Regions from separate parts of the Homo sapiens genome. Here regions 2, 3, 4 and 5 are each linked to region 1. Evidence: promoter capture Hi-C in 16 types of primary human blood cells and fetal thymus (Javierre and others, 2016). All regions are on one chromosome and are shown on one strand. The core of a region is centred on a gene start or on the middle of the fragment in contact, and the rest is flanking DNA. Distances in the headings are between cores, read along the strand shown. Region 1 holds the start of ABCF3 (ATP binding cassette subfamily F member 3). Region 2 holds the start of MCF2L2 (MCF.2 cell line derived transforming sequence-like 2). Region 3 holds the start of KLHL6 (kelch like family member 6). Region 4 holds the start of VPS8 (VPS8 subunit of CORVET complex). Region 5 holds the start of MAGEF1 (MAGE family member F1).

What was found. The method cuts DNA at HindIII sites, captures the fragments that hold promoters and counts their contacts. A CHiCAGO score of 5 or more calls a contact.
Region 2: a contact is called between the fragment with the promoter of MCF2L2 here and the fragment with the promoter of ABCF3 in region 1, in 12 of 17 cell types (activated CD4 T cells, fetal thymus, total B cells and 9 more). The highest score is 13.4, in activated CD4 T cells.
Region 3: the fragment with the promoter of KLHL6 here is called in contact with the fragment with the promoter of ABCF3 in region 1 in 8 of 17 cell types (fetal thymus, erythroblasts, total CD8 T cells and 5 more); the score reaches 10.9 in fetal thymus.
Region 4: a contact is called between the fragment with the promoter of VPS8 here and the fragment with the promoter of ABCF3 in region 1, in 12 of 17 cell types (total B cells, non-activated CD4 T cells, activated CD4 T cells and 9 more). The highest score is 18.4, in total B cells.
Region 5: a contact is called between the fragment with the promoter of MAGEF1 here and the fragment with the promoter of ABCF3 in region 1, in 1 of 17 cell types (non-activated CD4 T cells). The highest score is 5.8, in non-activated CD4 T cells.

The regions. Positions count from the first base shown.
Region 1 is chr3:184,182,501-184,188,789 of GRCh38, forward strand. It overlaps ABCF3 (ATP binding cassette subfamily F member 3), which reads left to right and starts at 3,699. Exons shown (of 21, transcript NM_018358.3): 1 at 3,699-3,780; 2 at 4,007-4,154; 3 at 4,296-4,375; 4 at 4,897-4,943; 5 at 5,164-5,261; 6 at 5,361-5,483; 7 at 5,641-5,907; 8 at 6,261-6,289. The coding sequence starts at 3,708. It overlaps AP2M1 (adaptor related protein complex 2 subunit mu 1), which reads left to right. Exons shown (of 12, transcript NM_004068.4): 11 at 257-368; 12 at 982-1,591. The coding sequence ends at 1,116. RefSeq lists enhancers at 684-1,198, 2,492-3,206, 3,684-4,003. The HindIII fragment of the contact is 6,180 bases long and covers 2,067-6,289 here.
Region 2 is chr3:183,425,398-183,431,686 of GRCh38, forward strand. MCF2L2 (MCF.2 cell line derived transforming sequence-like 2) reads right to left here and starts at 3,222. Exons shown (of 30, transcript NM_015078.4): 1 at 2,505-3,222. The coding sequence starts at 2,580. RefSeq lists a silencer at 2,972-3,051. The HindIII fragment of the contact is 2,747 bases long and covers 2,493-5,239 here.
Region 3 is chr3:183,551,627-183,557,915 of GRCh38, forward strand. KLHL6 (kelch like family member 6) reads right to left here and starts at 4,080. Exons shown (of 7, transcript NM_130446.4): 1 at 3,735-4,080. The coding sequence starts at 4,027. KLHL6-AS1 (KLHL6 antisense RNA 1) reads left to right here. Exons shown (of 2, transcript NR_046687.1): 2 at 427-700. RefSeq lists a silencer at 940-1,109. The HindIII fragment of the contact is 8,561 bases long and covers 1-6,289 here.
Region 4 is chr3:184,808,541-184,814,829 of GRCh38, forward strand. VPS8 (VPS8 subunit of CORVET complex) reads left to right here and starts at 3,626. Exons shown (of 48, transcript NM_001009921.3): 1 at 3,626-3,685. RefSeq lists enhancers at 3,444-3,493, 3,554-3,753 and silencers at 5,787-5,876, 5,887-5,936. The HindIII fragment of the contact is 6,000 bases long and covers 3,046-6,289 here.
Region 5 is chr3:184,709,049-184,715,337 of GRCh38, forward strand. It overlaps MAGEF1 (MAGE family member F1), which reads right to left and starts at 3,016. Exons shown (of 1, transcript NM_022149.5): 1 at 1,316-3,016. The coding sequence starts at 2,773. The coding sequence ends at 1,850. It overlaps LOC107986163 (a long non-coding RNA gene), which reads left to right and starts at 3,195. Exons shown (of 5, transcript NR_160768.1): 1 at 3,195-3,370; 2 at 5,983-6,289. RefSeq lists an enhancer at 2,216-2,275. The HindIII fragment of the contact is 12,590 bases long and covers 1-6,289 here.

The DNA of each region.
Region 1 (6,289 bases), core at 2,449-4,948:
ATTGCCTTTGTAATGTATCTGTGAAGCAGACAAAGCAAACGATAGCATGTCCAAGTGTCTAGGCAGAAACTGCATCCTGTTGTTCTAAAGAAGTAGACCCAAGTTTCCATAGCAAGTGGTTAGCAGGGTCCTGACCACTTCTCCTTGTTCTGGCACCTCCTGCAAGCTCCTGGGCTCTCTCCTTGCTTGAAATGGGCAACTGCCCTTGAAACTCCTCCAAGCCCCAATGGGCTGCCCATTGTCCCTGTGTTCCCAGGATCAAGCGCATGGCAGGCATGAAGGAATCGCAGATCAGCGCAGAGATTGAGCTTCTGCCTACCAACGACAAGAAGAAATGGGCTCGACCCCCCATTTCCATGAACTTTGAGGTATGGCAGAGGAGGGGCCTAGAGTCATGCCAGGGTATGCTGGAAGACCTCTTAGAGATCATTCCGATAAACTGCTGCACCTTAGAGGTGAGGAAACTGAGGCCTAGAAAGAAGAACTGGCTTTAATTCATAGATCCATTCTTCCCCTTTCAAGCCTCTTAGTAGAAATTACTATTTGTGATGAGGCAAATCTTTTACTTCTCTCGGCTTGTCCTAACACAGTTCTTTCAAAAAACTTAGATTGTTTAAATGCCAGGTAAGACACAAAGTTTACTTACAGACAGGATAATGGGCTGACTTTGCTTTGCGCATGTTAGACATAATTTTCTCCACCTTATTTTTAAGTTCATAATATTGAGCAGGATAAGTATGTTCTAAAGCAGTTCTTTGGTTGCTGTCTCCTGCTGATTAAAGGAACTGATTCAAGGTGTCACAGGTAGGGCTTTCTTCTTTAGTCACCTCTTAGAAGGTCCCACGCCGCCCCAGCTTCTTTCAGGACCCCAGCCATACAAACACCTGTAGTAGCGATGAAGTAGGGCAGGGCAACGGGACTTCCCAGAGGAGAGCGGCTGTAAGAGGAAGGCCACATTTCTAACTAGCTCTCCTTGCCCAGGTGCCATTCGCGCCCTCTGGCCTCAAGGTGCGCTACTTGAAGGTGTTTGAACCGAAGCTGAACTACAGCGACCATGATGTCATCAAATGGGTGCGCTACATTGGCCGCAGTGGCATTTATGAAACTCGCTGCTAGCTGCCACTAGGCAGCTAGCCCACCTCCCCAGCCACCCTCCTCCACAGGTCCAGGTGCCGCTCCCTCCCCCACCACACATCAGTGTCTCCTCCCTCCTGCTTTGCTGCCTTCCCTTTGCACCAGCCCGAGTCTAGGTCTGGGCCAAGCACATTACAAGTGGGACCGGTGGAGCAGCCCCTGGGCTCCCTGGGCAGGGGAGTTCTGAGGCTCCTGCTCTCCCATCCACCTGTCTGTCCTGGCCTAATGCCAGGCTCTGAGTTCTGTGACCAAAGCCAGGTGGGTTCCCTTTCCTTCCCACCCCTGTGGCCACAGCTCTGGAGTGGGAGGGTTGGTTGCCCCTCACCTCAGAGCTCCCCCAAAGGCCAGTAATGGATCCCCGGCCTCAGTCCCTACTCTGCTTTGGGATAGTGTGAGCTTCATTTTGTACACGTGTGACTTCGTCCAGTTACAAACCCAATAAACTCTGTAGAGTGGAGTTGCTGGCTTAGTGTTGATGTGGGAGCTACATGGGGAGGGAACTGGTGTTGCTCTCCGTGCAGTTTTCTGTACTGAATACTCTAAAGGCTCTTTCCTTGTCTTGTCCCAGTTAGGCCCCTCCTGGGCCATCCAAGCCCTTATCCTTGTGGGTTCTGGGCCCAGGTTTCCTGGCTCCTCTTAGAAAGCCTCAAGGGCATGCAGCCGCAGCGGGCCCCAGTACCCTGGGGATAGATTCTTTCCCTAGCTCCTTTTTATTCCCCCTGGTCCTCGGACTCCTAGGCTCAAGAGATCTTACCTGCCCCAGCCTCTGGAGTAGCTGGGATCACAAGCACGCACCACCACAGCACCCAGCTCTTTCTCTAATTCTTAGGCAGATGTTTTCTAATTAGATTAAGCATAAATTAAGTGTGAAGTTTACATTTGGTCTTGTAGCCATCCTAAGAAATTGACCTTTTAATTCCATCATTTACCCAAGCTTCCCAAATCTTGCTGACTGGGTGGTAGGAGGAAAGATTTGCAAGGAGAATAACATAATGGACTGGGCGCGGTGGCTCACACTGTAATCCCAGCACTCTGGGAGGCCGAGACGGGTGGATCACCCGAGGTCCGGAATTCGAGACCAGCCTGACCAACATGGGGAAACCTCGTCTCTACTAAAATTACAAAATTAGCCGGGCGTGGTGGTGCATGCCGGTAATCCCAGCTATTCGGGGGCTGAGGCAGGAGAATCGCTCGAACCCAGGAGGTGGAGGCTGCGGTGAGCCAAGATCACGCCACTGTACTCCAGCCTGGGCAACAAGAGCGAAACTCCTTCTCAAATTAAAAAAAAAAAAAAAAAGAATATAATGAATCTCCATGTCTCATCACCCAGCTTCAACTATGATCAATGCGTGGCCAGTTCCTTAATATCACATCCAGTTTGTGTTCACTTAACCAGGTGTCTTATCAAATTTTTCCAGATAAGGTCCATTGTGGTTGGTTAATGCTCCTCAAATTTTAAAAATTGATGTTTCCCTTCAGGTCTTGCAATTTTGTGGAAGAAACCAGAGTTCTGTAGTTTACCACATCAGAATTTGCCTGTTGTCCCCATGAAGTCACTTAACATATTCCTCTTTACCTGTATTTCCTGTAAAATGGTTCAATATCGGGATTGATGCCTCATGATGGCAATGTTTAATCCAAAGGGATGAATGGGTAATAATGTAATTTTCGGTGCCACTTTTAGAGACCAATTGGAGGAATATTCACGTTAAATATAAAGCAGTAGCATCATTTTGGAGGAAATTCCTAACTTCCCGAGGGAATCGGTGAAAGGAAATAGCCTTTTATTGGCATTTATTGAGTGCAGAGAAGTCTGCTCAGGGTGTAGGTAGGGAATAATTTATACAGGCCACGTTGTCCTGGTTTTCTTGCCCTTTGGCGGTGGATTTGGTCGTGCCCTGGGGTGGTGGAAGAACTGAATGGGCTTAATTCACAAAGGTCGGCTGAATTACACAGTGAAAAGGCGGTCGCGGCGGGGAGGCGGGTGGCGCTGGCCACCAGGCTGAGAAGCCCGTAGGGTCTGGGGACCCGCGAAAGCAAAGCACTGAGCAGGGGGCTTCTGAGAGTCAGGGACCGGGGTGAGTCAGCAAAGCTCTGGGCAGGCTCCAAAATGGGCCTGACTGGGTACGCACCAGCAGCAGACGCGCCTCGAGGGAGCGCATAAAACCTGGCAAAGCCAAAGTGCTTTATCAGCCGCCTGCCTCTTGGGAGGCTCCCACCCGCCAGACCACGGGTGCCTCGCGGCCCCGATAAACCTTGAGCTCCCAGCCTTTGCCCCACCCCTCGCTCCCGGAACTCCACCTCCCAGAAGGCAGCGAGAACCGCACATGTGGCTAATCTTTCAGCGGAAAAGGTGTCGCGCACGCGCAGAGAGCGCGGCTCCGGCGCAGACTCGGCGCCTCTCCTCAAGGCCCCGCTCGCCCCGCCCACCGGGCTCTGCGCACTCCGCTCCTTTCCTGCGTCACCGCTACACATGCGCCTTGCAAGGAAGGGCGAGATTTCGGGGGCAGGGCGGGGGGCGGGCCTAGGCCGGGGTCTCACAGCGACTGCGCGGACGGGTTCCTGAGTGGAACATGGCGACTTGCGCCGAAATCCTGCGGAGCGAGTTCCCCGAAATTGACGGACAAGTCTTCGACTACGTGACCGGTAAGCAGAACTGAATCGGCCGGCTGGGGAGACCGAAGTGGAGGCCGGGGGAAAGTCTAAGCGAGCGTCGTGCCCGGGACTGTTGCCAGGCCTCTCCTCTGCATGACCTCTTGTCCCGGGGGCTGGTTGGGTCTGGAGCCTGGACTGGGGCCTCTGTCTGGGGTCTGAAACTGCTTGTGTGTCCACCCTACCCGATACCTTCCTCGTTCTACCACGCCCTGCCCAGGCGTCTTGCACAGCGGCAGCGCGGACTTCGAGTCTGTGGATGACCTGGTGGAAGCTGTAGGGGAACTATTGCAAGAGGTGTCCGGGGACAGCAAGGATGACGCGGGCATCAGGGCCGTGTGCCAGCGCATGTACAACACTCTGCGTCTGTATGTGCCAGGGAGTAGGGGTTGATGGGGGCGAAGGGACGGCGAACGGTCCGGAGACAAGAGGTGGGGGAGGAAGATCTGATGGCCATAGAGCTTTTCCCTCAACTCCTAACTCTGCGCTTTCTATCCCTACCCACATAGGGCTGAGCCACAAAGCCAGGGAAATAGCCAGGTGCTACTGGACGCCCCTATCCAGTTGTCAAAGATAACGGAGAACTACGGTGAGAGTGAGGGGAGGTTGAACTAACTGCCCCCCTGTGCTTTTCTCCGCCCCCAACCATCTGCTGCCTGCAGCTTAGGGCTCCTACGTCTTTTCCACAGGACAAGGTTGTAGGAGCTAGTTGATGTCTTTACCGAGGGCAGAAGAGCCCATGATGGGGGTGGGGAGGAGGTTGGAGGGTTCTCCCTCCAAGCTCTTGGGTAGGATAGGAAGCATAAGAGCCTGGAGCTGGACAGACTTGCTTTCACCCCCAGTTTTGCAACTTGCTAACCAGCTGCATGATCTTGTAAGAGTTGGTTATCTGTCCCCAGCCTTGTCTATGCCTCTGTATCCTTCTACGTGAGTTTTGTTTTGTTTTGTTTTGTTTTGTTTTTAGTGCAGGGAAGATAATAGCCATCTATCTGCAGTATTATAAGGTTTTGTAGAAAACATCTGTGTCTGTGCCTGGTTCCTATTAGTCACTCAAAATGTTAGTTTCCCTTCCCTCAGGGAGAAGGTGACTGCTTTTCTTATCGCTTACAGACTGTGGAACCAAACTTCCAGGACTGCTAAAGAGGGAACAGTCCTCGGTGAGGAGGAGGAAGCAAGGGAGGGGACTGTCTGTGATGGGGTTGGGAGTTGACTGTCTAATTGGAGTATCTTTTGGGGGGATTTCTGACTATGTCTTTTCCTGAGCCTTTGAGTCTGTTCATCATGGGTAAGTTAAGAGGGTTTACTCGAGATGTTCTCTCTTGGGGTTCCTTTCTGAGCCTACACCCGAGAGTGAAGTCGATGTGTTTGGACCCTTAGACAGTGAATGCAAAGAAGTTAGAGAAGGCCGAGGCTCGACTTAAGGCAAAGCAGGAGAAGCGCTCAGAGAAGGACACGCTCAAGACCAGCAACCCTCTGTGAGTGGGGGAAGCATGGCTCAGAAGAGAGCAGAGCAGCTTTTGCCTGGACAGAAGGTGGTGGGGAGCACTAAGAGCTGTCCATTTCTCCCTTTAAAGAGTCTTAGAAGAGGCATCAGCCAGCCAGGCAGGCAGCAGAAAGGAGAGTCGGTTGGAATCATCTGGCAAGAACAAATCCTATGATGTGCGAATTGAGAACTTTGATGTGTCTTTTGGCGATAGGTGAGGGAATAGTGGTGGCAGGGGTTGGCTTTCTTTTTCTAATTAGAGGACAATTTGGAGAGGTGAAACGGGGCTATAAACAATGTTAGGTTTGTCATTAAACTTGCTGTGCACCTATTTCTAGAGCATCTTTGGTCTCCTTTCTCCACTCCTGCAGAGTACTGCTGGCTGGAGCGGATGTGAACCTGGCATGGGGCCGCCGTTACGGGCTGGTGGGGCGGAATGGGTTGGGGAAGACAACGTTACTGAAGATGCTGGCCACCCGGAGTCTGCGGGTTCCAGCCCACATTTCCCTGCTGCACGTTGAGCAAGAGGTTGCTGGAGATGACACTCCTGCCCTGCAGAGTGTGCTGGAGAGTGACAGTGTGCGAGAGGATTTGCTACGGAGGGAGCGGGAGCTCACTGCCCAGATTGCTGCTGGCAGGTGAGGACTCCCGGCTAGGGAGTAACTAGCAGCCGCTGTCGCTTACAGAGCGCCTGCCGTCCTGGAACAATCCATAATTTGCATGTACATCCTAGTAATCAGCAGAGCTTAGAACTTGGCACTCTGGGACTCAGAAGCCCTTGTTCTTTCCACAGTGCCCATTGCCCTTTCTTGTTCTTTCCACAGTGCCCATTTCCATAGTGCCCAAGGTAATGAGCACTGTGCAAACCCTTCCTGTATTCTCTTCCTCTTCCAGCCACAAGGTAGCCAATGGCCTTTCCAACGGTATAGGGTGCAGGACATCCTCCTAGACTGCCCCTGCTTAGGCCAATTGCTGTTTCTCCTCCCTCCAGGGCGGAGGGCTCTGAAGCTGCAGAGCTGG
Region 2 (6,289 bases), core at 1,972-4,471, 760 kb before region 1:
AATGTTCCAACCCAAAGCCTTGCTCCAAGCACCTCTCAAACCTTCCCCAACTCATGATCACCTCCTCAGAAGCTACTTGATAAGGAAATACCTGAAAAGAACAGGCAAGCATAGAGCCAATCTACCCTTGAGAAGCTCCACTGGCTACCCAAAGTGACCCTCCGTGAAGGCTGAGGCTGTTGCAGGGTTAGAGAAACGCCCGCTCCACCTTGAGGTCCCCCAGTAGGGGATATGAAGAGCTACCTTCCTGCCCTGAGCCTGCCACTCACTCCCCCTGAAACCTTAAAAGATGATCCTCTCTCACTTTGGGAGGCCAAGGCCAAGGCAGACGGATCACCCGAGGTCAGGAGTTCAAGACCAATCTGACCAACATGGAGAAACCCGTCTCTACTAAAAATACAAAAAAAATTAGCCGGGCGTGGTGGCACATGCCTGTAATCCCAGCTACTCGGGAGGCTGAGGTAGGAGAATCGCTTGAACCCGGGAGGCGGAGGTTGCAGTGAGTCGAGATCACACCATTGCACTCCAGCCTGGGCAACAAGAGCGAAACTCCATCTCAAAAAAAAAAACAAAAAAGATGATCCTCTCTGAGTCAATTCCTTCATTTGTAAAATAGGGGTAGTAATGAGTACCCCACCCATTTCACAGGTTTTATTAGATTAAGTATGAGGAGACAGAATCTTGCAAAGCACACAAAAGCCAAGGGTCATTAGAGGTTGAAAGGAGAAACTACAACAAATTCCTATGTGTATCCTGCATGGAGCTGTCTATAGAAGGAGGGAGGGAGCAAGGTAGGCAAGAAAATACCATAGCCTGGGCGCCACAGGCAGCTAAGTGTTAGTCAAGGAATACTGCCTGCCAGATTTTCAAGAAGAGCCTGCTCCAGAGAAATAGGAGGGACCTTTAAAATCATCCAGGTCAACCCCTCGTTTAACAGATGGGAGGCTTCGCCCTGAGAGAGGCCCAGTAACCCACCAAAGATCTTTAGTGGCGTGACAGAGGGACCAGGGATATGTCTAATAACTGAAATGTCTGTATAATCACAGTGTACACAGTATTTCTACCCAAATTATCTTACTTATCTTCACAAGTAGCCTTTGAGCTGAGTGGGAAAGTACTATTAAAATTCCTATTTTTCAACCTGAGGTCGAATGACTTGTCCAGGGAAAGATTCAAATCCAGACGGTCACACCCCGAGTCCACTGCTCTTTCTCTATACCACAACTTCATGCCTGTGCTGGGTTTTAGCACAATCATTTCAACTTTCATCATATTGCAGATTCCGAATTCTGTTTCATTACAAGTTCTTTTTCCTCTTATTTCACACTGCCTTCAGCAATATTTCACATTCAACCTTACCTGGTAGGATCCTACTGATCTTTTGTCGTAAAAGTTCAGTGCCCACAATTGGCACCAGAAACTTTTTTCTAAACTTGAATTATCAAAACTGGGCCTTCCCATATAAATCATCTTTACAAAGTATGTCCTCACAAGTGTATCATTTGAGATGTGCACGATTATTACAGCAAACACGTTGGACTAATTGAGGCAACATTTAACATGCAAGTACCAAGAAAGCAGCTTTCACAAATGTGTAGAAAACCAAGGCAAATAGTTCCTGGCTTTATCAATAAAAGCTGATTTGCATTCATGGGAGGACCTCCAAGCACAGTCAGCAACAGAGAAAATGATCCCGATAATTCCAGTTGCCCACATCCAGAGGTTCTGAACCTGAATGTGTGTCTTTACTGAGGGAGGTCCAGGGAAGGCCAAGGGGAAGAAAGTGCTAAGAAAAAACTGACTGGGAACTGTCTCAATGTCCTCTTGCCCTTACTTAGTCTGTGGGGCCTGACGTTCCATCACAACCCTTATTTCAGGAGCAAGCAATGCATGTTTTGCTCCTCTTTTCAACTCAGGGAAGAAGATTAAAATTGCTCAGTCTCCTTGGCTTGCAGAGATTTCTCGCGGGGATCATCAGGGGTGTGCTTAACCCTCCAGGCAGCACAGTAAAACAGGCCTAGCGGCCGAGCTGCGCAGGGGCGCTCCCATGTAACCTGCCTCTCCCTGCACTTTCTTATAAACAAGCCTTCAGTGGCGTGGCAATCATTTCTGCTGAAAAGCACTGGCATTCGTTCCTCTTATGCCCTCTCCTTTCTCACTATCCCCAAAACCAGAACATAACTTCCCACCCACCCTACTCCCGTCAGAAGCAGCTAACGGATGGTAACAGCCCAGCAGCCCTCGGTTTGGAGCTCAACGGACTCGGCAACCACCTGGTGAAGGCACCAGCCTCGGCCCCCCGACCCCCACCAGCGGCGCGCCCCAGGGATGCCCCCCGCTGGGCACCGCAGGCAGGACCCAGAGCAGCGAGGCCCAGATGCCGGGCAACCCCCCAGGAAGCGCGCTGCCCCGGGGCAGCGGGTGAGGCCAGGAGCCAGATGAAGCCCAGAGACCATCCTCACCCGCCATTAATAAAACGCAGGAAAAATTAAAGCTTCGTTTACCGACATGAGTGATCACTGTGGCCAGTCGCCGGGTGAGCTCCTGGGGAGGCATCTCTTCTTTTAAGCAAGACAGCATTTCACTGAAAAACCATTCCGTATAAATAAAGCCAAACAAAACTGTTTCTACCGCTGCGGTGGATGATTTTTTAAAGGCATCTCCGCCCAAGGATGCTCTGCCCTCGCCCTCTTCCTGGCTCTCCAGGCAAGAAACGAGAGTCCCTCGCAGCCTAGGCCAGCTCTCCCTCGCCACGCCCCGCGGGGGCTCCCGTGACAGACCAAGTCTGGCGCTTTCCCAGCGTCGCAGCTGGACCGAGAGAGGAGCGGCCGTTCTGCAAAAGGAAGCAAGTCGCCAATCTCGCCGGAACCGCGCCCCGGCTCCTCCGGCCGGGCGAGCTCCGGGGCTTCCAGAATCGCGGTCCCGGCCGCCAGGTTTCCGGCGCCGCCTCCAGGGACTGTAGAGTGAGGGATGCTCCGCCAGGTGCAGGGGAGGCGGCAGGTGGCCGTGGCTTCTCTGCGCCGCCGGCCCCACGCCCCAGCGCCCACCTCGTCCAGCCCACGGGTGGCGCCCGGGGCTCTCGGGGAGGCACGCACGCTCCCAAGCGCCGCTCGTTTTGGGGTCGGGAACGCTGCGCACCTTTCCCTGCGGGGAGCCCGCGCTCCACCCCCGGAGTGGAGCTCCGGTCCTTACTCGGAACCGTGGGGCGGGGAGACAGTGACTGAGGCGCTCCAGTCGCACCGGGGTCCGGATCATCAGACGCGCGCCGGCCAGGTCTCCGCCCCTCCTTCTTCCGCGCCGGGTGTCTGCGGAGGAGCCGCGGAGAGAAGGGGGCTGGCCCGGAGAGCTGCCGCCATCCGGCAGGACCCGGAGCGGGAGGCTGGGTGAGGCGCCGCTGCTTGCCCCACCTCCTGACCCCGGGGGCGGCTGGCGTGTGTTTTCCCCCACTTGGGGTTGTTCCACGCAGTTCTTGACCTCCGCTGGCCACACCTGCACTGGGAGCCCGGCGCCCGGGCTGCGCTCCGACAAGGCTGAGCACGCGTGGGCGCGCTCACCCCCTATGTGGGCGTTTTCCTTCGTGCAGCTGCGCCCTTGCCTCTGCTCCGTCTGTCACCTGTCAGGCACGCCAGTGCTACCTTCTGGAGGGGCTGTGGCACATCCTCCATGCTGGTCCTCCTCCCCATCAGCCCATTATCCCGTGGTTTCCCTAGTTGGGCCCAGACACTTTCTGACTGGCAGCAAAAGACTAACCCCAGTTCAGCAGAGCGCTACGGGAAACGCCTGAGCAAATGCGAATTCGGTCAGGTTGTCCCCCAATCCTTTCTACAGCGGGAGTCCCTGAATACTCAGCAGGCGGAATGGCGGGACCACCCAGGCGGATGTTCTCAGCCATCTCTTTCCTCTTCGATATGTAAAAAGCCAAGCCGCAAACACCCTGGATCCAAATTCTAGGAGTAGCCACCCATCACAGGGGGCTGAGGGTATTTTTTTAATGCTTTCTCTTTTCTTCTTTTTTTTGGAGACTGAGTCTGGCTCTGTCGCCCAGGCTGGAGTGCAATGGCGCGATCTCAGCTCACTGCAAGCTCCGCCTCCCGGGTTCACGCCATTCTCCTGCCTCAGCCTCCCGAGTAGCTGGGACTACAGGCGCCCGCCACCACGCCCGGCTAATTTTTTGTATTTTTTAGTAGAGATGGGGTTTGTTTCACCGTGTTAGCCAAGGATGGTCTCGATCTCCTGACCTCGTGATCCGCCCACCTTGGCCTCCCAAAGTGCTGGGATTACAGGCGTGAGCCACCGCGCCCAGCCCTTTTTAATGCTTTCTCTAACAATTGTGGGCTGTGATTGAGAAGCGAGGTCAGTTCACCTGTGTCATGAGATTTGTGGAGAGGTTCTTCCCCCTGTGAAGTTTGGGCACTTTGCACTCTGCCTGCAAAACAGAGCAAGGATTTTCTTTTTCTTTTCTTTCTTTTTTTTTTTTTTCGTTTTTAGAGATGGAGTTTCACCATATTGCCCAGGCTGGTCTCAAACACATGGACTCAAGTGATCATGCCCGGCCACTGAGCAACCATTTTCACAACCACCTTTTGCAAGAGATTCAAAAAAGGGTTAAAAGGCCGGGCGTAGTGGCCCACGCCTGTAATCCCAGCACTTTGGGAGACCAAGGCGAGCGGATCACAAGGTCAGGCATTCAAGACCAGCCTGGCCAACATAGTGAAACCCCATTTTACTAAAAATACAAAAATTAGCTGGGTATGATGTCACGCACCTGTAATCCCAGCTACTCGGGAGGCTGAGGCAGGAGAATTGCTTGAACCTAGGAGGCGGAGGTTGCAGTGAGCCAAGACCGTGCCATTGCACTCCAGCCTGGGCAACAGAATGGGACTCCATCTCAAAAAAAAAAAAAAAAGAAAGGTTAAAGATCCGCAGGAGGGGAGGCAGCTTTTGAATTATGTTTCCGGCGTTCAAGGGTCACAAGAATTTTCAAGGAACCAAATGAGATGTTTCCTACTGATAGTAGTCAGAACCCTGGTGCCCAGTCACAGCCAACTGTGAGTTTTGGTCAGCAGAAACCAACGCCTAGTAAAGAAGACAATGATGTGGGGTATGTTGGACTTGGAGTGTCAGAGCCACTTTGAAGATCCAGTAACCTCAGCTTCCTGGCTTAGGCCGGGTCCTTATGGGTGAGAAACATGAAAAGGAAGAAGAGAAGGAATGGAGGAGAGGAAAAGGAGGGAGGAGAAGCTTATGATTAAGAATGAGAACAAAAAGAAAACAGAAAGGAAATAAATCACACTCAGAGTGCTGCCCACATCTTTGGTACTTTCACAGTCCTCAAAGGTTTCCATGGAGATAAATGAGCTCAAGTTATGGTGAGATGTAGCAGGCAGTGCCTATCCTCAGAAACTAATTCTGCTCTTATCTCTGACACTTACTCTCTCAGGGCCTTCACTGCTTCCCCTGGGCAGTAAGGAAGTGGGTCTGTGATCTCCAAGTTCCCTTTTCCAGCTCTGAAATCCTATAACTGGAATTAAGAAGAAATGATCGGCTGGGTGCATTATCTCACACCTGTAATCCCAGCACTTTGAGAGGCCGAGGTGGGTGGGTTATCTGAGATTAGGAGTTCGAAACCAGCCTGGCCAACATGACGAAACCCCATCTCTACTAAAAATACAAAAATTAGCCGGGCACGGTGGTGGGCGCCTGTAATCCCAGCTACTCAGGAGGCTGAGGCAGGAGAATCGCTTGAACCCAGGAGGCAGAGGTTGCAGTGAGCCAATATAGCACCACTGCACTCCAGCCTGGGTGACAGAGTGAGACTCCATCTCAAAGAAAAAAAGAAGAAGAAGAAGAAGAAATGACCACATAGTGTTCAATAGCTCATACCTCCTTGTTCTTCCAAGAAAATGGTCATTGTCTCCATTGTTCTCATGAACACTGACATTCTTTCTGTCTTCTTTCTTCCCACCCTCCCACCTTCCCTGCCTGTTTTTCTCCTTCCTAATTATGATCTCTTATATTATGCCTCTTTGTGCTGTGGTTTCAATGTGTTCCCCAAAGTTCATGTGTTGGAAACTCAATCCTCAATGCAACAGCATTGAGAAAGAAGACCTTTAAGAGGTGATTAGGTCATAAGGGCTTTGTCCCGAGTTAATGCTGTTATCTCTGGAGTAGGTTCCTGATAAAAGGAGGAGTTGGTCCCCTTCTCCCTTCCTCTCACCCATGTGATGCCTTCCACCACGTTATGATGCAGCATGAAGGCTCCCAGCAGGTACACCCCTCGATCTTAGAC
Region 3 (6,289 bases), core at 2,830-5,329, 630 kb before region 1:
GTTAGGTAAGGATACTAAATCCTTATTTGAAATCAGTGAATGATGTCTAACACTGAAAAATCAAGAAAGAGCAGTATAAGTGTATTTTGCAGAAATATAGAGCTAGTGCCAGAAGAAACAAATAGAAGTTGAAAGTGGTAGCCTTTGGCGCATGAGACAGGGTGGAGGAGGAAATAGGAATTTTTGTTTTTTCATTATAAGCCTTTAAATACTATTTAACGCTTTGTTTACTATTTGCATATCTTTAATAAAAAATAAAATTTAATTTTAAAAAAATACATGAAAAACAGAAAGGCAGTGAAGAGACAGTTCAACAAAAAAAGAACTGCAGATGCCCCTTAAACATACGAAGAGATGTTTGATCTTACTAAAAATAAGAAAAATGCAAATTAAAGCTAAATTGAGATATTCTTTCTCATTTATCAGATTGGTAAAACTTCAGCGGTTGGATGACACCCTCTTTTGGTGATGCCGTGGGGGAACGCAACATGATTCAACCCCAATGAAAGAGAAGTTGCAATAACCGCTAAGACTGCAGATGCATTTGACTCAGCAAACCCCCTTCAAGAAATGCATATGAAAAAAACTCATGTTTCAGGTTATTCATTACAACATTGTTTGTAATAGCAAAATGTGGATTAGAAATAGTCCAGATGTCTGTCCGTAGGGGACTGTTTAATAAACTATTGTCAGTCCCTTAGTGGAAAGTAATTATTTTCTCAGTGAATAAAGGAAAAAAATGACATAATTTTATAACCAGCTTCCAGGCCCTCCAAAACACAGAGAGCTGTGTTGAAAGCCTCACAGACTGGTCGGGCGCGGTGGCTCACGCCTGTAATCCCAGCACTTTGGGAGGCCGAGGCGGGTGGATCTCGAGGTCAGGAGATGGAGACCATCCTGGCTAACACAGTGAAACCCCGTCTCTACTAAAAATACAAAAAATTAGCCGGGCGTGGTGGCAGGTGCCTGTAGTCCCAGCTACTCAGGGGGCTGAGGCAGGAGAATGGCCTGAACCCTGGAGGCGGAGTTTGCAGTGAGCAGAGATTGTGCCACTGCACTCCAGCCTGGGCGACAGAGCGAGACTCCGTCTCAAAAAAAAAAAAAAAAAAAAAAAAAGAAAGCCTCTCAGACAGAGAGACTCTTTGACCTCCCTAAACCTGAGCATACGAAGAACCCCTTTCAAAACCTCAGACACAAAGCGAGAGAGTGTGTCAGATTTAACGTCAGTCCTAGGTCTAAATCCCAGCTTGGCTACTTTTTATTTGCTGTGACACTCTGGACTTTGGCTCACCGTCGGTAGGCTGGGGATAGGACTCCCTGCCTTGTCAGGTTGTTGTGAGGGTGGAGTGGACTAGAGTATGTGATACAGAAGCTACAGGGCCTGGCCCACAGTAAGCGCTCCACAAACAGGAGTTGATAGGAATAGTAGCACCGGAAGAAAGAATCCTGTCTCCAGGACAGTATTCATTGTAGAAGGAAAGTCACGTTGAAAATCCCAAGAGAAGAAGCAAAAGTCACTTCTCTGAAGAGAAGAATTGAAGGAATTTCCTCTCATGACCAGGCAGTTTTGGGAGAGGCTCTGTATACACAGTCAGATGCCTTCACCCTCATGTTCTCCAGCTTCTCATTGCCGTTGCCTCCTCTGACGACCGGCAGAGACTTTCCCTAAGTATCCTGGATCAGCAGGGCTGGAAGGACCCAAGCCCAAATTCCCATTTAGGATGAGAAACCCAAGAACCAGAGAAGACCAGTGATCAACTCGAGGGCACACAGCCAGCGGGCCTGGTCCACAGCCAGGCCAACCCGCTAACAAAACTGCTTCCAGGTATGCATTTTATGATAGCAAGGGATACAAAAGGATCAACCTAAATGTGCGTCCCCAGGGCATTGAGCTAACTTGACTTCACTCACTCCTGAGAGGGGCTGCAGTCAACGTGAAAGCACGTGATCAAGGTTGGTGGAGAAAGTAATGTGTTTATATCAACCCATTTTGATGGCTGTGTTTACACTTTATATTTTACACACTTCCCATGGAATGAAGTCCCAGACCTAGTGGCAGCTTGCATTGCAGTAACAAGGATTTCCAGAACATACCCAGTCCCTGCTCCAGCAATGACCAGATATATAATGCTGAGTTTTCATTTCCTCATCTGTGAAATATCAGCCACCTTCATCATGCTGTTACAAAAATAAAATCAGATAACTATGTCTGTCTGGCACACAGCAGCCACTGCTTCCCTCAAACCCAGATATCCCCTTGTCTTATCAACACAGGAGACCTAATGAGTCCCACAGCAACCTGCTGATCCTGCTCTATGAATTACAAAGAAACGTTTCCCCCCAAGCACCTCAAAAAAAAAAAAAAGAAAGAAAGAAAACGCTTTCCATAATACTTTCATAGGTTAATCGTTTTCAATTTCCTCAGCCAGAATCAAGAGTTAAGAAGAATCTCATTAAGAAGAATTCTAAGGGTATTTCTTTTCAAGTTCCCAAATACTTTCTTCATTATCCACATTGCCCTTGCAGGCTGGTTCCCCCATGTCCATGCTGATATGGAGAACACTGGATCAGGTGTATTCACTGGGTTCCCAGCGCTATAAAATTCCTACCCCAGGGACGTGCTCATGGGAAACACTCAATAAGTCATCCTTAGCTGAATCAAGCAGAATCAGAAAAAGAATTCCAAGAAAGATATATTGAGCATCTACTTACTATATGCTAGACACTGTGTAGGACCCTTTTCACGCTCTTGTTTAATTATGACAGCCCTGAAAGGTGATCATCATTGTGCTCACCTTACAGATGATGAAACAGACATTCAGAGCACTTTGTGACTTGCCTAAAGTTTCACTGTCAAGAAGGAACCAAGTCTCCTGACTTCAGGCCTTCCCACTATGAGATCACCAGTTTATCGTAACTAGAGGCCTCTCCCATCTAAAGCATCTTTGTAACTGCTTTCCCTTTCCCCACACTGCCTACACATAAAGAAGCCCCTAATTTGTAACAAGTCATTTGACAACTCCAGAAGAGGGGCCACATCCTTTTTCTCTATGTCTGTTGATTAACAAAGACAACATTATGTTTCCAACACCAGTCAGACCAAGGGGGAAAAAAGTCCCCATGACTTCAGTAATTTTCCATCCTTTGGAACAAGGAAATATACACAAAAGGTTTACTATAGAATGTAAGCATTGCTTTTAAATGATGCCAATCTCTCTTTTAATGTGGCCTAAATCCTAAAATTTAAAGTGTGATAAGCCGGGCGCAGCGTCTCACACCTGTAATGCCAGCACTTTGGGAGGCGGAGGCGGGTGGATCACCTGAGGTCGGGAGTTCAAGACCAACCTGACCAACATGGAGAAACCCCATCTCTATTGAAAATACAAAATTATCCGGGTGTTGTGGTGCATGCCTGCAAATCCCAGCTACTCGGGAGGCTGAGGCAGGAGAATCGCTTGAACCCAGGAGGCAGAGGTTGCGGTGAACCGAGATTGCGCCATTGCACTCCAGCCTGGGCAACAAAAGCAAAACTCCGTCTCAAAAATAAATAAATAAATAAATAATAAAATAAAGTGTGATAGTGTCCTTTCTTATATTTTAAGTAGACACACAAGCCTTAATATATATGTAAACCATAAATATCATGGCCAACTGTTCAAGATTGGGCTCTCACACTAACACACCTCTTCCTTGCAACTTGCACCCAATTTGACTCTGGTCCTAGGCATGCTGACCTGAAATAGTTGCTGGCTGCGGCAAGCACCACGCGGTGGCAGGAGAATTCCTGAATGTCCACACACAAGATGACATCTGTCAGAGCGTTTTCCATTCGCAGGGTTTCCAGGCCATTCTGAAGAATTAAGGAGAGTCCCGCGTCGTCAAATTTGACCTTTTCCCCATTTAAGATCTCGACCAAGTCTCCTGTTTTCTGGGAGGGCTCATCTGTAGAAGGTGCCAGGGGCCCTTCCAAACTCTTCTCGACCACATCACCCATGGTCCAGGCGCCCCTTTGTCCTGCCATCAACATCGAGACTGAAGGAGCGCCCAAGTGTCAGGCAGGCCCCATTGCAGGAGCTGAGCGGATTTCCTGTGCAGGGCCCTCCACTTATCACCAGCTGTCACACACACATAACAGGAAGTCTCGCACTTTCTCATCCTGTTACTACAAATGCCAGCAACTTCTATTCTTCTTCTTTCTGTGAGTAATCACAGGGTTAGAAATTACTTAGAATAGGTGTGTGGGAGGGGGTTCTGGAAGAGGAGTGTCCTCTCAGAGTCCACTGTGAGTGCTGTGTGTTTATTTTGGTGCATCTCCCACCTCATATCCGTGAGCAGGAAGCCTCCGGTGGTGGCTGTTACATTTGTACTCCTAATGCTATCAATAACCCAAGTCGTCAATGAGGGGATGGACAGGAGACAGTCTATAATCCTCCTGCTTCACATTTGTACTCCTAGTGGCTCAATAACCCAAGTCGTCAGCGAGGGGATGGACAGGAGACAGTCTATGATCCTCCCACTTCCTCCTCCCAGGAGTCTGAGACCCCACAATGATCCAACAACCGTGCTTTGTAAACCATGGAAACCCCACTTATCCCTGACATTCTCATTTCTGGCGGCACTGCAGATCGTCTATCTTCATCCTCCTCCCTACCCAGGGGAAAACAACGTCATGGCAAACTTTCATGTCTTCCCCCACCAAAAAAAATGTCTATTGTTTCGAATATGCTTTGGGGGCACAGAAGAAATGGTTTCCAAAACTCCATCAACAGCATCTTCTCAGAGGATGAGTCAGGGTGGGTCTACACCGAATTGCCATAGCACGTCTCAGATTAGCCCAACATCTACTGACCGTGCATCTAACGGTGGATCCTGAAGTATTTTCATTACCTCTGCATGTCTCAGTTAAGTAGTAATAACTGTCATTATTAAAATCCCATGATATCCTGGGGAAGTTATAGGAGCGTATCAGTTAGCGTTCTCTCACGCCCAACAGTAATGCTTTACCAGGTTGCTAGGTATTTCTTAGCCCAGCAAACTTGACATCTAAAATTAACCATTACAATTACAGTCATACCCAGCATAATGATATTTCAGTCGATGATGGACTCCAGAGAGACAGAACCAAAAGGATACCTAGAGAGGCATAGCAGAGGGAAATTATTAGGGGAATTGGCTCACGTGATTATGGAGACTGAGAAGTCGCATGACAGACTGCTGAGAGCTCAGTTCAAGTCCAAAGGCCTCAGAACCAGAGAAGATGGTATAACTCTCAGTCCAAAGCCAAAGGCCTGAGAATCCAGGGGGTGGGGAGACTGGTGTAAGTCCTGAAGTCCAAAGGCAGGGGATCCTGGAGTCCTGTTGTTCAAGGCAGGAGATGACTGTATCCCAGCCTCAGGAGATAGAGACATCGACCTTTCTTCTGTTTTTGTTTTCTCTGGGCCCCTGGCTGATTGGATGGTGCCCACCCACACTGAGAGTGTATCTTCTCTACCGAGTCCACTCAGACTCACTAATCTCTCCTGGAAACAACCTCACAGACACGCCCCATGGTAATGCTTTAACAGGTTGCTAGGTATTTCTTAGCCCAGTAAACTTGACATCTAAAATTAACGGTCACAAGTACAGTCATGCCCAGCACAATGACATTTCAATCGATGATGGACTGAATATACAATTGTGGTCCCAAAAGATTATAATGGAGCATATAAAGAAACCTGACGGCCGGGCGTGGTGGCTCATGCCTGTAATCCCAGCACTTTGGGAGACCAAGGCAGGGGGATCACAAGGTCAGGAGCTCAAGACCAGCCTGAGCAACATGGTGAAACCCCCATCTCTACTAAAAATACAAAAATTAGCCAGTCGCGGTGGCGTACACCTGTAATCCCAGCTACTTGGGAGGCTGAGGAAGGAGAATCGCTTGAACCCGGGAGGTGGAGGTTGCAGTGAGCTGAGATTGTGCCATTGCACTCCAGCCTGGGCAATAAGAGCGAAACTCTGCCTCAAAAAAAAAAAAAAAGTCATGGAAAAATAATGCCATTCACAATGGTAATAAAACATATGTAAATGCCTAGCAATAACAGCAACCAGCAACATAAAGAAAACTAACAAACTTTACTAAGAGTTTCGAAAGAAAACTTAAATAAATATACCAAGTTCCTTTATGGAAAGACTAAATATTATTAAAAGGACCAATTCTTTCCGAATACATTTATAGGTTTATTTTACTCTAATAAAAATTACAAGAAAATTTGGAGTTTAGGTTTGTTTGTTTGTTTGTTTTTGAGACGGA
Region 4 (6,289 bases), core at 2,376-4,875, 630 kb after region 1:
CAAATTTTGCCTTGCAAAAAAATCTCAATACCTGTGTTTAGATAAGTACAAATGAAACTTTAAGAAATTCCAGTATCACTGTTTCTCAAACTTGGATATCGTTCAGATCCTTTGTAAGGGGAAAAGATTCTCACAGATATCTAGAGTTAGCTTATAATTTTTTATAATGTTGCATACATATATGTGTATGTATATATGCAAACACAAAACTAAGAGCTCCTGATTTTTATAGATTTTATGCATCTATAAAACTAAAAAAATAAATTGAATACAAACAAAACTACCAAATGAGGAAATGCAAATCTACAATTTTGATTTAATATAAGGAATGATATTTTGCTGGAGCCAATATTCACATGAATATTGTAATACTGTGTGATGACTCAATTCTCCCACTACCCTTTGTTAGTGCAGCACACCACAATATAATTTGCCTATAACTTGGTGTGACCACATCATTTATTTTAAACATCATTCTCTGTTTTTTTTTCCTCACAAGTCTGTAACAATTCACTCAGTACTATTTGCAATCACAAATCCAGCAGTGAAACTGCATTCCCAGAATAATTATAAAGGGCTGATAAATTTATATAGATATTCCACTCCAATAGTAATCCCATACAGGTTAAAATGAGAGACCATTTCATCTATCATATTGGCAAATCTTTTTTTTTTTAAGATAAAATAAATGCCAGTGGGGGTGCGTGTGATGGGCACCACTGAGAGCTTCTGGTGAGAATGAAAACTGGCCTGACATTTCTGGAAGGCAGTTTGACCACGGGTATTCACAGACTTAAGAGTTTTCAAAGCCTTTGAATCAGTAATTCCACTTATAGGTTGCTAGCCTAAGGAAGGAAATAATTTTAAAATGTGGGCAAAGATAATGTGTAAGGATATTCATGGCAATGTTCTTGTTAGCAGTAAAAAATAGGAACTCCTGTATATGTCCAAAAATAGTGGAATAATGAAATACATGAAACTATATCATTAATAATTATGTAGCCATGACAAATAATATTTGTGAACAATTTTAGTGATGGTGGATAGTGCTCAAGATATAATAGTGAAAAAAAGAGGATGGATTATTAACTATATATCCTATAAATATATAGAATACACAACTAAATATTCTATGCAGTTCTATTATGTCACAAATGTAAATATACAAAGAAAAAGATCCAACGGATAAGCCAAAACTATAAGTGCCTTTTTCTGGGATGTGGGTAATTTCTGCTTTATTTTAAAATATTTCCTGAATTTTCCAAGTTTTCTACAATAAGCACACATTTTTTTTTATTATTATTAAGGCAAACAGCCCTGGAAAGGATAGCATTTGAGATTACTTCCTGCTGTGAACAGAGGTACATAAAAGGGCTGTTACTTTGGAGAGGTCTCAGAGTCAGTCTGGACCATCCTAAAATATTCTTTATTATAAGTTGAAATCTGCCTCTCTGCAACGTCCATACACAGGTCGTAGGCTTGCTTTCTTTCTACAGCTATTCAGAATAAGTCTATGAGTGTTGCAGAGATATTTCAAAAGGGTCAGTTTTTTAAAGTAATGGCAAAAACCGCAATTACTTGTGTACCAACCTAATAGCTACCTTTCCACTGCTCACCCCTATGACCCTGCTCTCCCCTACTTCTGCTAATTTCTTTTCCTCTGGATACTTTCAAAAGTTCTCTGTCACACAGGCTTTCTGGTCTCACCAGCTTGCTTATCCTTCTGTAGACAGTCTCTAGTTTAATAGCTTTACTAGAAAAATGTGATATTCAGAACCAAAGGCCGGTTTCCAGCCTTCTAAAGCACAGCTATCATCTTGCCACTCCTCTGCTCGAGTTCCTCTGGAGACTCTCACCAGAAGAGCAGAACACCCCAGCTTAGCGTGCAATGTCTTCCTGGATCTGGTCCTAGCCTTTCCAGCCTCATAGCCCACCACATCTCTAATACACACTACACCAGTGTCTTCAAACTATGGGTTGCTCTGCATCACTGAGTACTGAAATGAATTCAGTAACCAGCACTTAAAAAAAGAGAATAGAATAGAAAATACCAAGTTGCATTGTACACTCTAAGGGCAATTACTGTTTCAGCATATCTATCTATCTATCTATCTATCTATCTATCTATCTATAATGCACACTCACACATATGCGCATACTGTGTGTGTTTTTATACTAGGCCATGGCTGAAATGTATCTTTTTTTTTTTTTGAGACGGAGTCTCACTCTGTTACCCAGGCTGGAGTGCAATGGCACAATCTTGGCTCACTGCTGCAACCTCTGCCTCCTGGGTTCAAGCAATTCTCCTGCCTCAGCCTCCCGAGTAGCTGGGACCACAGGTGCATGCCACCACACCTGGCTAATTTTTGTATTTTTAGTAGAGACAGGGTTTCTCCATGTTGGTCAGGCTGGTCTTGAACTCCTGACCACCTGCCTCAGCCTCCCAAAGTGCTGGGATTGCAGGCATGAGTCACCGCACCTGGCCTGAAATGTATTTCTTACTGTGAGGGATGATTAAAAGAAGGTTGAAAGCCACTGGCCACACCACGGCTACATCAGGCCAATAACTAGTTCCCAAACTTGCTTTGTACTGCCTTTGATCCCACCCTTCCCTCAGCTAGGCATTCTCCCTGCTCTCTGCTACTGAAATCCTTCAAGGCCCTGACAAGATACCACATCCTTCCTTGAGTGTTTCACCCTTTCCCCCTGTCTGTGCGAAAATGGTGGTTCAATGTCTTTCTTTATATTACTCAAAACAGCCTGCCTTGTATTTTGTTATGTCTGTACACTGAATTCTTAGAAAATAAATACCTGGAGGACAGGGCAACACCTTCGGGTCTTCTGAAGGCCCAGAAGTCTAGTGAACCTAGCTGATGCTCAAAAATGTCTGCCCAACCGAATATTTTCTGTATCTCCTTCCAAGAGTATCTTCTGGTGTTCTTCCTCCTGTTTTCTTGACCTATATAGCCCCCAGCAGGCCTAAAATCTGTGTCCTGGGGCTAATGTTACGTACAGTGATGACTCTAGAAACCAGTCTGTTCTGAAAGCTTTCACCTTTCTTCAGGAGCGATAAGAGAAATAAGCATACGTTTTTGTTCATTTTTCAGATGTTTCCTTTATTTGAGACTATGTTTCTCCTGTATTTTTGGTGTTAAGATGTATTTTGGGGAGCAACACTGATGATATATTACAAGATAATAGTTGGTATTTTAGTATGTGTGTGCCTATTGTACTTATTTGACACAATAAATAGGCAATTCTGAGTTCATCTTTTAAAAAAAAAAAAAAGTTAAAAAAAATTTACTGGTTGCAAACTCCAAAAGGCAGGGAATCAACTTCCCTTCTGGGCTGGCTGCAAGTAAGTTCACTTTCTTAAAGGAGGAGCTTTCTCCTCTCACCTCAAGGACTGTTATTTATTTGTCTGCGCTACTCTTTCGACGTTTCCATTCTCTTGGTCCTCAAGATGTGAATCACCCATTTTTTCCGTAGGGGGGAAGACGGCGTATCTCTGGCCCTTTAAATAGGGGCGTGGTGAAGAGGCGCGGACCGCCCAGGAGGGGGAGCAGTGCGAGGAGGAAAGCGGAAGCGCTGCCCGCAGTGGTAGGTAGTGCGCGTGCGTGAGGCTAGAGCAGTGGGTGCGGTCACGTGGGCCGGCGGTCCACGGCCGGAATGGCAGCAAGCTCAGGTAACGAGTTTCCAGAGAGCGGGCCCGTGGAAGGAGACAGGATTGAGGGGCCGTATTCAGGGTAGGAGGAGAGCGCGCGACAGGTCTCTGAGCCTCGGCGTCTCCTCCCCGCGCGACAGCGGCGGGACCTCGGGGAGCGAACAGAGCAGCCCCTGACGGGCTAACCGGACCCGAGCCACGGGCCGGGCGGGGTTGATTCTCGAGTGGAGGGGCGTGTCGTACGTTGGCCCGGAACTGGGTCGGGCAATTTCCACTTACTGGTTCCAAATGAATGTGAAAATTCAAATGGGCTTAAGTAAAAAGGGATTTATTGGCTCCAAACCTGGAAGGGGCTGAGGTATCACTAAATCCAGTGACTCCGGTGATGTATTTGTGTATCTCTCCCTTTCTGCAAAGGGCCAGTAACCCCTCAGTTCCCTATCTACTTTGCGACTATAATTGCAAGCCTCATTCTGTCCTGTTACAGTCGTGCGGCAATTAGGCTGAGGGACTGGCGCGCCCGCTCCCCCGACTGTGAGCCTAGGCGGCGGGTGTCATGCCCCTCCCCACTCCCGGGCGGAACAGGTGTGTAGCCGGTCTGTCGGGCCTGGGAAACAGGTGTGGACCCCTTTAGCCTCCAGGGACTGATATCAAGGTGCCTGAGCCTGAGGCTTAGATGGGGTGTCCACCTCTTAGGATCGGTGCGCACCCTGTGAGGCTGGTTCCAGTTTGTCTCCGCGTGCAAGTTGTGCACCAGAGTGAGGGCAGCAGGGTGAAAGGTGGGCCTCTGAAGTTCGAGGCTACTCCTGTGCCTTGGCCAGTTCTTTGTGCTTGGCATCTGGGGAAGGAGGGAAACAGCTGCTCAGAGTGTCTGGGTGTACAAAATGGGGGTGCTTTACAGGAGGATAGGGTGGGAGGAGGTAGGATCGGTGAGAGGTTCCATGGCCGTGGGTTATCAGGAATAGCTAGCTGGGGAGCCTTCTTTAAATAAGCAGGCCCCCTCCACTTCTTAGATTCTTGTTAGAATGAATAGGAAGGCTTCTGGCCTCTGCACCATCCACCCTCTACCATACTCTACTTTCCCCTACTGAAAAACCCCAAAACCCAAGCAAAACAAGCATGGATGTTAGCTTGTGGTGCTAAACCTTACTCCAAATGTCTGCATTTGGGAGACAATTACATGTTAATTGTCTGTGTATGTCTATGTCTGCCTGTGTGGGTTTGAGGTATATCTAATATAAATGTGGATGGAGAATCTGCATATGTTTGTGTAAGACGTGGGTTTGCTCATGGTTAAATTTAAGCACAGAATAGGTATTGAATCCTCTGGCAATAGCTGGCCTGTTCCATAGAATATGCAATAAAGATAAATGGAAAAAAAATTCGTTGAACTACTGGGCTTTATATGGTCAAAGAGGCATTTGTGAGAAAATTCTTTCCAGAGCTCTAACAGAGTAATATGTTGATTTTTTCTTTATATTTAATATATTTGCTTCGTATCTGGACCATTGTCAGCAGATGGATGTTTTCTGTCTTCCAGAATATTGGGACATGTTGGTGATTCTTAGCTGTATCTCACTATTCCATTGACATTTCAACCAGTGTGACACAAAATGTCAGTTATGTATGTGAATGAGAAGTAAGATCTTTTGAATTTAATGAAGTATGTTTAACTTTGGATCTATTGATAGCTTTCATAGAGTTTAGATCGTATGTTCTCTTGATCCACAGCTGTAGGTGTCATCGGTACATAGTGGTAAGATCAAACTGTTGTATTCTTAACTGAATCTTGAATGAATATTTGACTTATCTTCACGCTGTATGACATTATTAAATGTGTTCTGTGTTTTAGCAAGGAAATATAGCTTTGCGTTGGATTTTTCACTGTTATGAATTTCTTAGGTTTACTGTAATAGCAATTATACTTTTTTAGTCAAAGATATTTCTGTTGCAAGTGACAGAAAATTCAAATGGGCTTAAGCTAAAAGGGATTTATTGGCTCCAAACCTGGAAGGGGCTGGGGTATCACTATATCACTAAATCCAGTGACTCCAGTGATGGAGTACTTGTGTCTCTCTCCCTTTCTGCAAAGGACCAGTAACCCCCAGTTCCCTATCTCCTCTGCAACTGTAATTGCAAGCCTCATTCTTCCTGTTACAGTCATGGGACAGTTAGGGGATATGTTCTGAGAAATGTGTGGTTAGGCAAATTTTGTCATTGTGCATGCATCATAGTGTACTTACACAAACCTAGATGGTGTAGTCTGCTACACACCTAGACTATGTGGGATGGCCTGTTGCTGCTAGGCTATAAACCAGCACAGCATGTTACTGTACTGAATACTGTAGGTGGTTGTAACACAATGGCCAAGTATTTGTATATCTAAACATAGAAAAGGTACAGTAAAAATACAGTTTAAAAGATTGAAAAATGTGAACCTGTGTGGGGCACTTACCATGGATGGAGTTTGCAGGACTGGAAGTTGCTGTGGGTGAGGCAGTGAGTAGTGAGTGAGTGTGAAGGCCTAGGACATTATTGTACACTACTGTAGACTTTTTGAACACTGTACACTTAGGCTACACTGAATTTATTAAAAATTTTTTCTTTCTCCAATAATAAATTAAC
Region 5 (6,289 bases), core at 1,766-4,265, 530 kb after region 1:
TTCTGGTACCCATCAAAGTTGTTAGCACAGAGTGGACACTCAATATTTATGTTTAATGAACCATAAACTACCCAGAAGTTGTATTTTTAACCGTTAGCAACTTTTTTGTCCCTAAGCTGGTAGCTTTTGTCCCAATCTGATTTGTTGGATCCCTACGTCCCAAAGTAGTTTGTATTCCATGCCAACCTTAACATCCTCAGAGATGTTACTTGGACACAACTGGAAGAAAAAATTGATAAGAGAAAAGAAAGCAGCTCTTCTGTTTATGGCAGTTGCAGGGGAAGTTTCACCATCCGCCCACCCTGCCCCCGACCCTCACCCACTCTCTGGTTTGGGAATCACTTCTCTAAATTCCCTATTATTCTAAGTACCCTTTCTACAGGATTTACCCTCACGCAGAAGGTGGTGGGCATTGAAGAAGCCAGAGCTCCTTACAGATGACTCTCCACGGATAACATGAAGGGGAGGGATACCTCACAAGTCTCCTGTAAATGGGAGGTGGCAGGTGGAAAGCAGCAGGCAGAAACATGGAAGGGGGAACTGGGCTTCCTGGTGCCAGAGGAGAAATCTTGAAGTGGAACTTCTTGGTAGTAGTAGATTTAGGTACCCTTCATCCACACTACATAATATTCCAGAGGTGTTACATTATTTGATCTCTGAGGGCTTTGGTAGAGGAGGGAACCCTGTAGAGGTTGAAAAGGAGACAGAAAGGGCCAAAAAGTTGACAGTCAACATCTTTGTGCACTGTTAACAATCTGGTCTGGAAAGACAGCACTGGCAAAGGTAGAGTATTTCCCAGATCTGCCATGTATCAAGTCTGCTCACATTACTGAGGAGTAGCTGTGATCTGAAATCATTATTTTTATTTCTTATTTTTTTCTGAGACGGGGTCTTGCTCTGTCTCCCAAGCTGGAGTGCAGTGGTATGATCTCGGCTCACTGCAACCTCCGTCTCCTAGATTCAAGAGATTCTTGTGCCTTGGCCTCCCAAGTAGCTGGGATTACAGGTGTGTGCCACCACGCCTGGTTAATTTTTGTAATTTTAGTAGAAACAGGGTTTCACCATGTTGGCCAGGCTGGTCTTGAACTCCTGACTCCGGTGATCAGTCCGCCTCGGCCTCCCAAAGTGCTGGGATTACAGCAAACCTCACTCAATCATCCCAGCTGGGTTAAGTATCCCTTTGTAGACTTCAACTCATTGCACTGCTAATTTCTTGTTTATTTACTTACTCTTCAATTCTGAAAAAAAGTAGGACCTTTATCTTGTTTAGTATTCTATCCCCAAGTGCCCACACAGTGCATCACAGAAAACAAGATGCTCCACAAATGTTTAATTTATTAAGTGTGCCAGGGTATACTGCTAACTCATTGCATTTTAATTTTTCTCTAGATACTCAAATAGCTAAGCAAATGAAGGTACATGCCAGTCTTTCTTCTTTTATACACAACAGACAAAAGTGTTGGGGGGCTAGACACCAACCAGCTATTTTTTTCCCCTGGAACCAGATCATCATACTGCTGAGTTCCTTCAAACCATCAAAGTACAGCCTTCCTTCCAATGTTGCATAATCTGTTCAAAATCACAGTATAAATACAAAGTTCTTCCATCCATTTTACAAAACCAGCAAAACTCTACAATAAAATCCTACAGGAAAAAGTAGACCAATCTCATTTACAAACAGCATTTTAACAGTAATTATTAAATGTTACAAAACATAAGATACAAAATCTAAATCCTTAAAGTCACACGATTTCTACAGAAATAAGACCCTCGCCCCACCCATATTACTTATGACTCAGGACAGTAGTTCGTCCTCACGGGGACCCACTGGCCAACTTTTCACCAACCCTCACCAGAGGTGGATGCCGGCCCTAGCACTGGCCCTGGCCCTCATACTGGCTTCAGCTCTGGCCTTGGCTCTGGCCCTGTCGGCCTCGTCTGCTAGGGCCTCACGGTACTGCACTGGCCAGTGCTGCGGTTCCTTCTTATGCAGTTTGGCCACGAACCCCAGGACTTCCATCTTGCTGATTTCCAGGTTGCTTCGGGGACCCCAAGAGAATTCATATTCTGGTGGATTGGTGTGAGGCACCCGCCTGTAACTGAGATATCGCTGCTGCACAAAATCTTCCATAATAAGCCTCTTCGGATACCCAAAGAGGAAATGATACTTTGAGGGTTGCACCCCCAACCGACGCAGCATCTCCCAGACCTGGGCCTCCCTGGCGCTATTACCTCTCATATAGATAAGGCCCAGGATCATCATTAACAGACCCAATCTGGGGCCATCTCCTCCCAGATCCTCCTCCTCCTCCTCCTCCAGAGGTTTTAGTTTGTTGATCAGGATGTAAGTGTGGTGCTTGCGGTCAAACTGTTTCAGCTCAAAACCAAAGACATACCGCAGATGCTCTGCGGCCCTTGCGATGATGTCCGGGAACAGAATCTTCAAGTCTCCAATAACGTATTTCACCATCTCCGAGCGTGTGATGGGACTCTTCTTCTTGTCTTTCACCAGGAGGAACTGCACCAACTCCGCCACCGTCCGATTCAGCCGGCGGTAGGCCCTGCGCCTTGCCAAGGCTTTGGCCGCCAAGGCCCTCGCGCCTTTCCGGGTGAGGGCGGGCTCCGCAGCCCCCTCCTCCCTCCCGGCGCCAAGCTCCTCCTTGGGGCGCTCCTGCGAGGCGGTCGGGGCCCGGGTCTCACCATCATGGCCGCCATCCTTCTCCCCCTCGGCCTGCGGGACCGGGAGCCCCCTGCTCTCTGGTGTCTGCAACATGTTTTCGGGCAGGCAGGTGCAGAGCGCGTACACGGGCCGAGGGGTGTGGGAGCCGCCGCGCAAGCCCCGGGGGAGGGGTTGGACAGCGGCAGTGACGGCGGGAGTACAAGGAGCAATGGCAGCGGGAGCTTTGTGGCTGCTGGGCCGCACCGCACGGGAGTCAAACCTGCGGCCGCAACGCCGCCAGCAGCCGGAACCTGCGGCGCGCAGCCTCAGTCCGCGCCCGCGCGAGGGGCCACTTCCGGCCACCTCAGCCAGGACGGCGACCCTAGTGCCGCGCGCAGCCCCTCCTTTTCCGGTCCCTTCTGGGTTGGGGGTGTGCCCAGGCTGCTATAAGTGGAAATGCCCTGGAGGGTGGGGACGGGGGTGCGCCCTGTGACGGATTTTAGGCTTGAAAAGTCGGGGGCGGGGGAATGTAACCAGGACTCTCCCATCCAAGGCATGCAGACTGGGGAATGTTTCGGTGTACAAGAGATGAAATAGGGATGGAGTGCCCCCCACGTTCTTTCTGCAAGTGCCTATTTGTGAGTGTGTGTATCTGGGATTTTCAGTGCTTTACCGGGGCTCTTGTGCAGAGTGCACGGTGAAGGCTGCGAGGTAAGACTGTGCGAACCAATTAGTAAAGGATGCTAGGGAGACTGAAATTTATTCTGGACGTAAAGAGAAAATACTGCAGCGGGATTTAAGCAAGTGAGTGTCCAGACCAGATCTGTGTCTTCGGTTCTGGCGGTATTGTGGAAGATAGATTGGAGTTCGGCCGGCTAAAAGCTAGAATCCAGTTTGGAGGATTATTATAGTGCAAACTAGGAACTGGGACCCGGCCTATTTACTGGGTTGTATCCTCGGTGCCTAGAGCAGTGCCTGACACGGAGAGGAACTCAATAAATATTCAATGGATCATTATGATGAGGGAGTAAGGACAGCAGATTCCATGGGGATAAGAGGAAAATACTGAGAAGTACAGCAGGAATAGGGACTGGTTGGAAGAAAGGGGAAGTTTGTTCTTTTTTTTTTTTTTTTTTGCGCAAGTCAAATTTGACTACTCCCATGTATTTCTTTTCTTTTTCTCTTTTTACACACTCTGAGCTTTCTTCTGCTTCTTGCTCCTTCCTTCCTTCTTTCCTTCCCTCCTTCCTTCCTTCCTCCCTCCCTTCCCTCCTTCCCTTCCTGCCTTCCTTCCTTCCTTCTTTCCTTCCTTCCTTCCTTCCTTCTTTCCTTCCTTCCTTCCTTCCTTCTTCCCTCCCTCCCTCCCTTCCTTCCCTGTCAGAAATGCCCTCTCTATCACCTCCATTTCTCCAAATCCTGTCCACTATTCAGGGCCCAGTTTAAACATCACCTTCCCAAGCCTTCCTTAGTCACCACGCATAGAAGTTATTTACTGTCATCTCTGAATCACCTTAGCAATTGTTAACATCCACATATATAGGCTTTATTAGGTGCCAGGCTCCGTTCTAATCACTTTTCAAATATTAATTCATCAGATTCTCACTAATGTAGGTACTAATACCATCATCCCCATTTTATAGATGATTGTATCTTTTCTGTGACACAGTTTGCTACTTACTAGCTATGTAATCTTGGGCAAGTTACCTAAACTTCTGCCCTTCTGTTACCTTATCAGTAAAATGAGTATAATAGTAGTAACAGCATTGTGGAGATTATGTGAAGTAATGCACATAAGCATTTAACACAGTGCTTGGCACATATTGATATTCAATACATGTTAGCTGTTAATTAATGCATATTTTTATATGCAATATACAATATTAGAATTGCAAGATGAACTGTCCTGGAATGCCTAGCACTCTGTGGAGATGCGGAGGAGGTGTCCTGGGACATAGCACTGAACCGGGTCAGTACTCACCCATTCTGTGACCTTGTACAGGATGCTCAAACACCCTGGGCCACTTTTTTCTGATACTGTAGCCCTGCTAGGTAAGTGGTATTAGCCCCATTTTCCAGGTGAGGTTACACACAAGGAGGTTAAGTAACTTGCCCAACATCACACAGCTGGGATGTGAACCCATATAGTATGACTCCAGAGACTGTGCTCTTAACCACTACATTCATAGATGTTAATTATTATTATTATCATTTACTATATTTTGTATTATAATTTGTTGTGCTTATCTTATTACCCTCCCCAAACCAAACATCCTAAAAGCTAGGGCTATGTTTTTAACTCTTTTGAAGAGCTTCTCTTAGTCAATACTCGATATATAATTGCCAATGAATAAATGACAGAAGGCTTTACTTTTTTCCCTAGGAAATAACAGTTACTTATTTTAAGTAAATATCTGATAGACTTTTCTAAATCTAAATATGAAATCTTCCTTTTAAAAACTTTTGAAAATTTATACCCACTTGTATCATATGACTTACAAACCTGGAAGTATGTGAATGAAGCAGGAGAGGATGTTTATTATAGCCTAGCTTGAGGCTATTATTAGTTTTCATTGTGCCAAACATTCTATGTACAATATAATTTTGTCCTCACAAATCCCTATTAAGAAGGTATTATTATCCACATTTACAAATGGGAAAACAGTCACAGAGAGGTTAAATCACCTGCCCTGAACCACCCATCTGTTAAGTGCTAGACAAGAAATGAAAACCCAGATCTGTAAACTCTGAAGCAAGACTGCCTGGTTATCTGTTTTTCCTGAAGGTAGAGAGAGCCACCCATACCTAAAAGGACAGTGCTAGAGATAAAATAGTCCACTTACATATTTTCCTCACTACAAGGATTGCCAGGGAGATATGCAGGAGATACATGCACGGAAAGGAGCATGCAGAAGATATATTAAATGAAAAGAATTTTGAGGGACAAATCTGTGGTAATAGGGCTGGATTTTAAGAACTGAATAAATGACGATACTACTCATAAGAAGGAACAAACTACTGACACAATGTGAATGAGTCTGGCAGATATGTTGAGTGACAGATGAAAGATACAAAAGATTATACGTATAATATGATTCCATTTATCTGATGTTCGAGGCAGGATAAGCTAATCTATGGTGATAGAAATTAGGACAGTGGAGGCCTGGGGTGGTGTTGACTGGAAAGGGGTATCCAGGAACTTTCAGTGGTGATGGCAACGTTCTGTGTCTTGATTTGGATGTAGGTATACATTTGTCAAAACTTGTGAAACTGTACGCTTAATAGCTATGCATTTCTTTTCTTTTCTTTTCTTTTCTTTGCGACAGGGTCTCACTCTGTTACCCAGGCTGGAGTGGTGCAATGGCACAATCTCAGCTCACTGCAACCCCTGCCACTGCAACCCTTGCCTCCAGGTTCAAGTGCTTCTCTTGCCTCAGCCTTCCAAGTAGCTGGGATTACAGGCACCTGCCACCACACCTGGCTGATTTTTGTATTTTTAACAGAGACGGGGTTTCACCATGTTGGCCAAGCTGGTCTCAAACTCCTGACCTCAAGTGATCTGCCTGCCTCAGCCTCCCAAAATGCTGGGATTACAGGTGTAAGCCACCATGCCCAGCCAGGTATGCATTTCAT